2 separate regions of the Homo sapiens genome follow, and region 1 is linked to region 2. Evidence: promoter capture Hi-C in human tissues and cell types (Jung and others, 2019). All regions are on one chromosome and are shown on one strand. The core of a region is centred on a gene start or on the middle of the fragment in contact, and the rest is flanking DNA. Distances in the headings are between cores, read along the strand shown.

Region 1 (5,506 bases), core at 243-2,742, 1.2 Mb before region 2:
AGAGTCCACGTGGCACGGGAGGGAGGCCGATTCTCCTGCACTGCTCTGGGGTGCCCTGGACTCCAGGAACAAGAAGCCCAAAACTGAAGGGTGAACGGTCTCTCCTCCCGACATTTCCATCCCTTGCTCCGGTTCTCAAATGAGCAAGCACACAGCCAGCCCTGGACATATAGAAGGCATGGCAGGCAATGCCAAGCTTTCCAGAGAAGCATCCCAGAGCCTCCTGCATTCCCCGGGGGAAATGATCAAATACAAGTGAGGATGAAATCCACTTATTTTGCACTTTACAGAAAAATTAACTTACCGCTCCTAGACTGGGTTGCGGCAGCACCCTTGTCTGAAAGGCTGGCCAACCCCAGTGTCCTTGAGCAGGCAGCCTGGCCGGCAGGATGACCTTACCAAGTCCTTCCCCAGAAACGTGACTACCGCTTACTTTACCACTCACCAAGCAGCACTCCTTTGCCCAGGCCACAGTCTGGTTTGAAAGTGGCCAAAGCTGTGGCTGCACATGAAAGAAGGAAGCAGCAGCGGCCCCTGCTCTAGAGAGCTGCCAGATTTGGGCCAATGCCATCCTGCCCTGGACAGAGCCCCAGGCCCCCTCCTCCCCTCCCCAGTCCAAGATGGGTGCATACAGACTTGCACACACACAGATATGCATGCACACAGACACGTGCAAAGATCTGTGCACACAGAGGTGCAGAGACATGCACACAGAGACCTGTGCAAACAGACATGCACATATACAAACACACACACACACATGCCTGCATACAGACACCCCAGAGGATGCTGGGATATGGCCGAAGTCAGGCCAACCTGGAGGTAAGCGCTGGATTCTCCTCACTGGTTCAGGAAATCCGGCAAATTATTTAAATGTCCTGAACCTCCCTTTCTTCATCTGTACAATGGGAATGAAAAGGCCCACCTCCCAGGACCCTGTTGGTAATTAAATAACGGCCACTTGCACTTTATTCTGAGTGCTTTTCACCAGGAATCTCACTTTAGCACACAGCACTCTTGTGAGGTAGATTCTAGTGGTATCCCGTTTTGCAGATGGGGAAACAAGGCCAGAAGGCTTACTTGCTGAAGGACACACAGGCACTAGCTGCCGGTGTCTGTACCCTGCAGGTCTCACTTGGGGCTCCAGGTCTTCCATCCCTAACCACTCTGCTCCACTGCCTCTAGGGGTGCAATGAGACAGCGAATGCACACAGAGCATCTGGCAAGGCGTCACATAGGACCTGGTCAACAGCAGTTGCTCCGTGATCAGGAAGGAGAAGCGCAGAGGTGGACCCGCAAGCTTTCCAGTAGCCCAGGGCCAAAGCACCAGTATCTGTCCTCCTGTCTGCTACCAATCCCCTCCAGCAGACTCACTTTTAACCCAATTTCTCTAAGATAACAGTGCTGGGAGGTGGAGGAGTGTTATCTCCCCACCCTTACCCCTCCCAGCTGTCTATATCGCCCTAAACAGCCAGGAATTTAATAAGCCTGGAGTTGTCTCTGACTCCCAACCACAACCAATTCGGAATGCCCCAGGTCCTGCAGCACAACAAAGGCTGCCCTGCAAAGCCCGGAAGAGCCTGCGAAGCCTGCCCCGTCCGCGATAGAGCATCACATTCTTCAGATTCTTGTGTAAAAGCCAGAAGTAAGGCAAGGGGGTGGGGGTGGGGGGGCTCTAATTTCAACCTAAGGGTCATTAAAGCCTGTGACCTGTATTAAAAGGGAAGAGACCCACCCCTCTGCAGCCCCTCTGTACCACGCTGGTCCTCCAAGGTGTATGATACTGCACAGGTCAGCACACCCAGGCCTCACAACCAGAAAGCGCCCTCAGCCTAGCGTCCCCACTTTGAGGACATCAAGCCTCCAGGACACACAGCTAGTCAATGGCAGGAGGGATTTTGCCAGACTGATCTTCAGCATCGTACTGGTGGCCACTATCTATTTCTTTCTGTCTAACATAGGTTTAAAGTTCTAGCCAGAGAGTCCACAGAACTAACCCCAGGTAGAGTTCAGGGGAAGACGTTGAGGTGCTGATGGAGACTCGTGAATTCCACAGTGCTCGGCAGCAAGTAATTAATCTCATGATGAGGCGTTTTTCATGAGCATTTGGCATTATATACCCACCTCCCCCTCGCCCTGGCAAAGGCAGGAAACAGTGGGCGGCAGGCCGGCTCTGGGCAGAAGGCGGGCTGAGAACAGCATGCTGGTGGGCTAGGAAGGTACGAGGGGGCGGTATCCATTCTTCAGAGGGAGGACAGCAAAAACCCAGGTTCCCCACAAGGACCAGGCTAACCAGACCTCACACCAGCCTGCCAGCCTTCACCTGCTGTCTACCCGACAGGTCTCTTAGGATGGAACAGGGAGGGCTGTAATTTACAGCTGGTGCCATAAAGCCAACTAGGTAACGCGACCCAGCAACCACCACTGTGAGGCTATGTGTGGAAGTCTACAAAAACCCAATTTCACAACTATTGTCCACATAGTGGTTGAAGTGGGATGAGAAGGCAGGAGAGGCGATGGAAGTAGATATGGAAAATAACTGGCCTGAAAATGAGGAGCTGGGAGAGGATTTTAGATCATTCACTTGCTACCTGGGGCTAGTCACGTAGGTTTTCTTGGACTCTCAACATTCCCAGCTACAAAATAGGAACACTAATACTGCCACCTTCATGGGATTGAGAGACTTTTGTTGCAATAACTTGAAAGTGACTTTAACCTTTGTAACGTGATATAAAAAATAGACTGAAATTTTTAAACAGATAAAAATATATCACCTGGCACTGTGCCAGATAAATTGTGGACAGATAAAACATATAAACAATAAAGCTATACTTTATTAGCATCAAAACCCTCTGTGGCATTTATTTTCCTCATTCCACAGATAAGGAAAACTGAGGCACAAAGAAAGATTGTATGACTCACTCAAGGTCAAAGGGCCTGCAGGTGGGAGAACCAAGATTAGGGCAGATGGTCTGAGTCCAGAGTGCCTGCCTATTTACCTAAGCACCAGACACACGCCCATCATGCTGGTGAGGCTCAGAAGCCAAAGAAATAAAGCCATCTACCCAGGACATCAGGGTCTGTGCCACCCACATTCTAGTATGAATATCCTCACCTGTTTCTCAAGCATGTATCAAGTGCTCACCATGGGCAAGGCACCATGCAAGGGTCCTGGCGACAAGGCCTCTAAAAGGGGAAGCAAGACCAGCACATAAGCCAGCACAGAGAATTGCTAAGACATGAAGCAGTCCGCTGGGAACAGTGGCATAAGCGAAGCATTTGGCAACGCACGCTCGAACCGCAGCCATCCAACACTCGGGCCAGTACCTGGGAGTTTAGGTTATAGTCCTGCACCAGCTTTCTACAACAGTTCCTCCTTACCGGTGTCAAAAGTGCTTATGACTTAACAGAGGGGAGGAGCCACCTCCAAGAACAATTGGCTCACAGGCACTGGGCAGAAGGCAGGGCAGCCTGGGAGCTGGGAGCAGCCAGGGCAGCCCCCACCCAGTTCTCAAGTGTTTTGATCAGAAGTAGAAGCCCGGAGCAGAGAGCAAAGTGGGACAAAAGGAAAAAGCGCTGGTGAACCAGGGGTGGGCAGTGGGGGGTGGGAAGAAGGGCAGGAGGGGCATTGATACTTATCGGGAGTCCATCATGAACTAGACACTGCTGAGAGCATTTCATACTTTAGCTACCCAGAGAACACTAACAGATAGTTCTATGAACCAGAATTTACAGATACAGAAACTGGAGCTCAAAGCAATTAAACAACCGGTAGAGCACCGTCCTGGAGGGCTCCTCCCCCAGATCTGAAGGCATCCACAGAATGTCCCTGGATCAGAGAACCCTCTGCTGACACAAACACACTCCCCTACTCCCTTCTTCCCTGTTACAGATTGAATTGTGTCCCTCCCAAAAATATCCATTATGTTGGAGCCCTAACTCCCAGTACCGCAGAATGTGACTGGTATTTGAGGACAGGGCCTTGGAAGAGGTAATTAAGTTAAAATGAGGTCCTTCGGGTAGGCCCTAATCCCATGGCTGGTGTCCTTATAAGACGAGGAAGAGACACCAGGCGTGTGCGTGCACAGAGCGAAGACCATGTGAGGACACAGTTGGCAGACGGCCATCTATGAGCCAAGGAGAGAGGGCTCAAAGGAAACCAAGCCTGTCCACACCTTGATCTTGCATTTCCAGCCTCCAGAACTGAGGGGATAAATGTCTGCTGCTTAACCACACAATCTTGTACTTCATCATAGCAGCCTGAGCAATTTTTTTTTATTCGTATTTTTATTTTGAGAAAGGGTTTCACTCTTGTTGCCCAGGCTGGAGTGCAATGGCGCCATCTCGGCTCACTGCAACCTCTGCCTCCCAGGTTCATGCGATTCTTCCTGCCTCAGCCTCCCAAGTAGCTGGGATTACAGGTGCCCACCACCATGCCTGGCTAATTTTTGTATTTTTAGTAGAGACGGTTTCACCATGTTGGCCTGGCTGGTCTCGAACTCCTGACCTCAGGTGATCCGCCCGCCTCGGCCTCCCAAAGTGCTGGGATTACAGGCGTAAGCCACCACACCCAGCTGCCTGAGCAATTTAGTACCTCTCAACATACCCCCTCATCTGCTTGGGCTCTCTACAGCTCTTACTGTCTTGACTTTCCTAGTAAGTATGTTTGATTATTGTTTGTTTCCGCCACTAGAGAGTAAACTGCAGGGACTTCAGTTGCCTTAATCAATGATGTGTCCCCAGAACCTAGAACAGTCTCTAGCAACTGATATGTATTTAATGAACAAATAAATTGAATGAAAATGAAATGTAAACCCAGCAGCTGCTTCTGAAGTCACCCACTCCCTGCCCCACACCCCACTTCCTGTTGCTTTCTCTATTCCTTGTATCCACCTCTCCTTCCTCCAATATAACAGCTACTAAATAATTTTAAATAGTATAAATTCAGACCACGTGCAGTGGCTCACATCTGTAATCCCAGCACTTTTGAAGGTCAAGGCAGGAGGATCACTTGAACCCAGGTGTTCAAGACCAGCCTGGGTAACATAGCAAGATCCCATCTCTACCAAAACATTTTAAAATCAGCCAGGTGTGGTGGTGTGCACCTGTAGTCACAGCTACTTGGGAGGCTGAGGTGGGAGGATCACTTGAGCCCAGGAGGTTGAGGCTGCAATAAGCTATGATTGTGCCACTGCACTCCAGCCTGGGCAAAAGAAAGAGTGAGACCCTGTCTCTCAAAAAAAAAAAAAAAATGACAGGTAATAAAAAAAAAAAGTTAGGTTAAGGTTTAGATTGTGTTTTTGCTGAGTTTGTATTTAATCATGGGAGGTATTAAGGACTGTGACAGAGCTGTCCCAGTGAAACCTCAAACCCGAGAGGCCTGGTGCTGATCCAGGTCCCAAGAGCAGGCTGGAGGGGAGGACGCAAGGAGCTCGGCAAATCTGCAACACACAAGGGCAGCGGTGGCCACTGTGACCACCTGGGCCCCCAGCCCTGTTCGTGCCCT
Region 2 (5,222 bases), core at 1,330-3,829:
GGCTGGGCGTGGTGGCTCACGCCTGTAATCCAAACACTTTGGGTGGTCAAGGCAGGTGGATCACCTGAGGTCAGGGGTTCGAGACCCGCCTGGCCAACATGGCGAAACCCTGTCTCTACTAAAAATACAAAAATTAGCCAGGCATGATGGCGCATGCCTGTAATCCCAGCAACTCAGGAGGCTGAGGCAGGGGAATCGCTTGAACCCAGGAAGCAGAGGTTGCAGTGAGCTGAGATCGTGCCACTGCACTCTAGCCTGGGCGACAGAGTAAAACTCTGTCTCAAAAATAAATATAATAGGCTGGGCGCAGTGGTTCATACCTGTAATCCCAGCACTTTGGGAGGCTCAGGCGGGTGGATTACTTGAGGTCCAGAGTTCGAGACCAGCCTGGCCAACATGGTGAAACCCCGTCTCTACTAAAAATATGAAAAAATTAGCCGGGCGTGGTGGCAGGCGCCGGTAATCCCAGCTACTCGGGAGGGTGAGGGAGGAAAATCACTTGAACCCGGGAGGCAGAGGTTGTGGTGAGCTGAGATCGCGTCACTGCACTCCGGCCTGGGCGACAGAGAGAGACTCCGTCTCAAAAATAAAATAAAATAAAAAAATATATATAATTCATTTCAGTAGTAAAAGACATAAACAAAAAGCTATAAGTATACACTACGTTACAGCTTTTGTTGAGGAATGCAATAAACATACATATCACTTCCCTGTATAATCTCAATGGCCTTTGGGAGAGAATTTAGAAAAGCATCCCAGTCGCTGAATGGTTGAGTTTAGGGGAAAAACTGACCCAGCACAGCCCCCTCATCTCCTGGATGAGGTTACTGCGGTTCCGCAAGGTGAATCGAGGTCAGTCGCCAAGGCAGAACCGGATTCGCCAGATTCCCTAGTCTCAGTGGAGCTTTAACCCTCCCAGGCACAGGACCGCTGGAGAGGTCGCCACGGGCCGGTTTCCCAGCCGGCCGCGAGGGGGCGACAGAGTGCAATGGACCCAGGTGAGTCGGGGACCAGGCGCCGCCAGGTCGTGACGCCACAAGGTGAGGGAGGTCTTTGATGGAGGGAGATACAGGAGAAAAGGCGCCGAGCTTAGGAAGTCTGTTCGTACTGTCCTCCCCGATTCCAGTCTGGCTCCCACTGCTATCTTCCTCCCACTGCTGGACCCTTCTAAAACAAAAGCCTGACTTTGCTACCATCCGTAAAACTGTAACGACACCTCCAACGTTGCTTACAGGGAAAAAAAAAAAAAAGGGCAGCAAAACATGGGACCTGGGTGATCTTGCCCCAGCCTAATTCCAAGATATCTCCTGCAAATAGATATCTATTTGCAGATATCTGGGAGCCGTATTGAAATACTTCCAACTCCCTGGACTCATCCTACTTTTTTTTTTTTTTTTTTTTTTGAGACTGAGTCTCGCTATGCCGCCCAGGCTGGAGTGCAGTGACGCAATCTCGGCTCACTGCAACCTTCACCTCCCGGGTTCAAGCGATTCTTCTGCCTCAGCCTTCTAAGTAGCTGGCACTAAAGGCGCGCCCAGATAATTTTTTTTTTTTTTTTTTTTTAGTAGAGACGGGGTTTCACCGTGTTAGGATGGTTTCGATCTCCTGACCTCGTGATCCGCCCTCCTCGGCCTTCATCCTACTTTTTCTCCCTGAATATCTTTTCGCACCAGCTCTACGTGGAGAAATCCGACTGTCTTTGAGCGAAGTACAGTATCACTTTCTCTTGAAACCTCCCCTGACACGACCCCTCCCCTGACACGACCCCTCCCCTGACAACACCCCCACCCACCCCACCCCAGTTTGGGGGAGGAGCCCCCTCCTTTGTTCCCACTACCCCGTGGGCTTCCCCTATCACACTGTAATAAATATCTGGCCTTGTCTATCTCCTTCTGTGCCCATCACAGAGCAAAGCAAATACAAAGAGTTCATTAAACGTTGGCTGGATGAATGGAGGAGACGGCACAGGGTTCAAGCTCTGCTACTTGTGCGGCCTCAGGCCGACTAATTATCTGGTGGGTTTGTTGTAAGGAGTCAGAACTAAATGGATTAATTACAAATAGTGCTTAGGACAATGCCCAGAATACTGTAAGCACTCAAGAAACTGATTTATTTTCGTCATTTTCACAGCGGCCAAGGTACATGAGGATGTAGCTTATCGCCCTTTTAAGGGACTCTCCCACGTTCGACTCTAAGCGGAAGTACCCGCTCAGGGCTCCGGAAGTGGCCTCAGAGCCCCTCAGCAACATGCCCGCAGAGAATTCTTCCGGAGGCGGTCACAGACATCTCCGTGACGCAGAACGAGTTAGAGCGTCCCTTGGGGTTTCCATGGTGCTGCCCTTAGCCTGCAGTATCTCCACTTCCTCTCCCGCCTGAGCGCCGGGAACGGAAAAGCAGGCGGCCGGTCCCAGCTGCGACGTAGACGCCGCGTGGGGGTGGGGTTGGGCGAGTAGGTGACGCTCTAGGCGAGCTCGTTGGCCTCTCTATGGTGCCGAGCGCGCCCGTTCGGACGTTGCCCCTTTAATCGGCAGAGGGCGGTGCCCAGGAGGTCCCGCGAGAGCTGCGGGGGGCGGGGGGGCGGTGCCGAGGCTGGGGGCCGGTGGCGGATGGAGCCCGCGATGGAGCCGGAGACTCTGGAGGCGCGAATCAGTGAGTGTCCGGGAGGGGCGCGGGCCGGACCGGAACCGGAACCGGGGGCACGAGGCGGGCCCCTTCCCGGCGGGGGCGGGGTACGGGTCGCCCCCTCCTCACGCCCCGCCCCCGGCCCGGGAGGGGCGGTGTCCTCAGTCGGCCCCTCAGACCCTGGAGCGATGGAGGACCCCGGCCCCGGCGCGGTCCAGCGGTGGGAGCGGGCGCCGCCCACCTGTCGGATCCCTGGGCCATGACCCCTGGGACGGCGAGTGAGCTGCGCCGGGAACCCCCGGGACGGAGAGAGCAGCCTCCAACCCCCAAGGCTCACATTGCTTCACGGAGTAGCGGCCCGGGGAAGGAGCACGCGAGCGGTTCCCCGGGGTTGCATCTCACACCCGGGAGGGAGGGACCCTACTATTTTCAGGCCCCGAATCCTCCACTCTCTGGCCCTGCATGGCGTTCCTGGAGCCCGCAAGTAGTCACATTTGCTCATTACCCCGTCCTGGAAGGGAGGACCCACTGCCCCATTTGATTCCTCCCGCCGCTCCTAGTCTCTAGCCACATAGTGAGAAACCCCCGCACCCTACAGGCTTGGGAGAGTCTTAGACTCCAGAAGTATTAATAATTCCAAGCTCCCTGTCACTCCCTTCAGCCTAACCCCTCAGTCTCCAAGATGCCTTTCCCAGCTCTTGCTGAACTTCCTTCAAAGGCTTCTACACCCCTTTTTTTCTTGTTTCTCCTCAGACGTAGCTTCCTATTGCTTAGGCTTCCTAGCCCGCAAACCCTCCACCTGAGCTCCTTAACCCACAGCCCTGATGATCCCCTGCTCTCACAGCCCCGCTCCTGGACTCTGCCTCTGAAAGCCGTGGCTGGCTTCTCCCTGGTCTAGTGAGGGTTCTCTCCCAAGGCTTTAACTGCTGTTGGGACCCCGTCGTTGCCAGGGCCTCAGGGAACCCTCTTGGACCCGGGCACACCGGCAACTGTCTAGCGTGGTTTGGGGTCATGGCCGGCCCCTTTTAAGCCAGGCTTGAGCAGAGTTGAACCATGAGGTTGGCCCCAGAACCAAACCTCTAGGGATGTTTCAGAGTCATCCTAGCCACCAGAGGGGCAGGGGGTGGAAAAGGGGCACTCAGCAGCCCTTGACCGTTGTGAACGCCGGAAGTGTCCGCCTGGGTCTCAGCAGCAACTGGGCTGGGGGGATGGGTGGGCCCCTGGCTAACTGATCTCAGACACAGGTCTTGAGCTGTGGGTCATACAAAACATTCTCAGGTTTAGAAACAGTGGGGGTTTTCTGAGAGTCCAGAGAGTCTAAAACCAGGCAGAAGTTAGAGATACCTGGGTTTGGCTGGGCCCTGACACACTGGGGCTGGGATTTTCTCCTTTCCTTCCCCCTTTGTGTCCTAGCAGAATTGTAAGATCTTTCCTCTTCCCTTGTGGAGGCTGGAGGTAAAGGATAGCTTCTTCTTTTTTTTTTTGAGACGGGTTTTCACTCTTGTCACCCAGGCTGGAGTGCAGTGGCACAATCTCAGCTCTCTGCAACCTCCACCTCCCGGGTTCAAGTGATTCTCCTGTCTCAGCCTCCCGAGTAGCTGGAATTACAGGTGCGCCACCACGCCCAGCTATTTTTGTATTTTTAGTACAGGTGGGCTTTCACCATGTTGGCCAGGCTGATCTCGAACTCCTGACCTCAGGTGATCCGCCTATATAGGCCTCTCAAAGTGTTGGGATTACAGGCGTTAGCCACTCATCCGCCCACGTCGGCCTCTCAAAGTGTTGGGATTACAGGCGTGAGCCACCGCGCCCGGCCTAGTGAGGTAAATGATGTTATTGTCAGCACTATAGAGTGGCAGGGTGGAGTCTTACCCTGTTGTGAAACACCTCCCTCCCTCTCTAGGTGTTCTCCCCAACTGCCTGCTAGGGAGGGTACTCCCCTCAGGTAGAATTAAGAGGGCTGAGGGTCAGGGGCCATGGGCCAAGGAGGTCAGTCAGATCTCCTTGGATCTGGAGGCCCTGGCTTTCAGCCAGAGGCAGGGGGAGAAAGATGATGTCTCATGATGCCAGCGCTTCCTCTTCACTGGCGTCTGACCCAGGAGCAGTCCAGAATCAGCTTCTCTGACCTCACTCCAACTCACGTGTCTTTGACACTTTAAGGGACTTCCTGTTTTAGGGTCTTCTGGCTGGGTGTCATTGAATGGGCAGTGATTCTCTAACTTTAGACTGATGTTCCCCAGCCTTTGTTTGGGGACTCGGAGGCAGAGTAGACAGTTACCCTTACCCCTGGGTTGGGGAGGGTCATATTCCTGGTATCCCCAGGAGGTCAACAGGGGCTTCATTTTTCTGAGGGACTAGAGGGTCTTGTGGAGCTCCTGGGACAGAGATCTAGATCCAGAGAGAACATTCGTCCTTCCGATCTCAGCTCAGCTCTGAGAGCCCTCCCAGAGAGCAGCTCCCGAGGGCTCCAGAGCCCTCCGAAAGCCCTCCCAGAGAGCAGCCCCCACCTCCCAGGCTGTCTGCACTTCTCCTTGCTATGCTTTGCTCTGTAACATTTTGCAACAGTCTGCAGTACACGGGGTTTGTTAATCTGAGTATTC

What was found. Contacts are between HindIII fragments. The study calls those that stand out against the background at their distance.
Region 1: a contact is called between a fragment that was not itself captured here and the fragment with the promoter of GGA1 in region 2, in 1 of the 25 tissues and cell types used here (spleen).

Annotation. Positions count from the first base shown.
Region 1 is chr22:36,367,259-36,372,764 of GRCh38, forward strand. All of the region lies in intron 1 of MYH9 (myosin heavy chain 9), which reads right to left. Among named protein-coding and RNA genes, the nearest start is that of MYH9, 18 kb to the right of the region's middle. RefSeq lists a silencer at 1,406-1,700 and an enhancer at 2,013-2,102. The HindIII fragment of the contact is 6,874 bases long and covers 1-4,929 here.
Region 2 is chr22:37,606,255-37,611,476 of GRCh38, forward strand. It overlaps GGA1 (golgi associated, gamma adaptin ear containing, ARF binding protein 1), which reads left to right and starts at 2,580. Exons shown (of 17, transcript NM_013365.5): 1 at 2,580-2,649. The coding sequence starts at 2,607. RefSeq lists a cis regulatory region at 756-1,215, enhancers at 1,960-2,039, 2,190-2,359, 2,964-3,585, 3,300-3,409 and a silencer at 2,520-2,969. The HindIII fragment of the contact is 29,756 bases long and covers 1-5,222 here.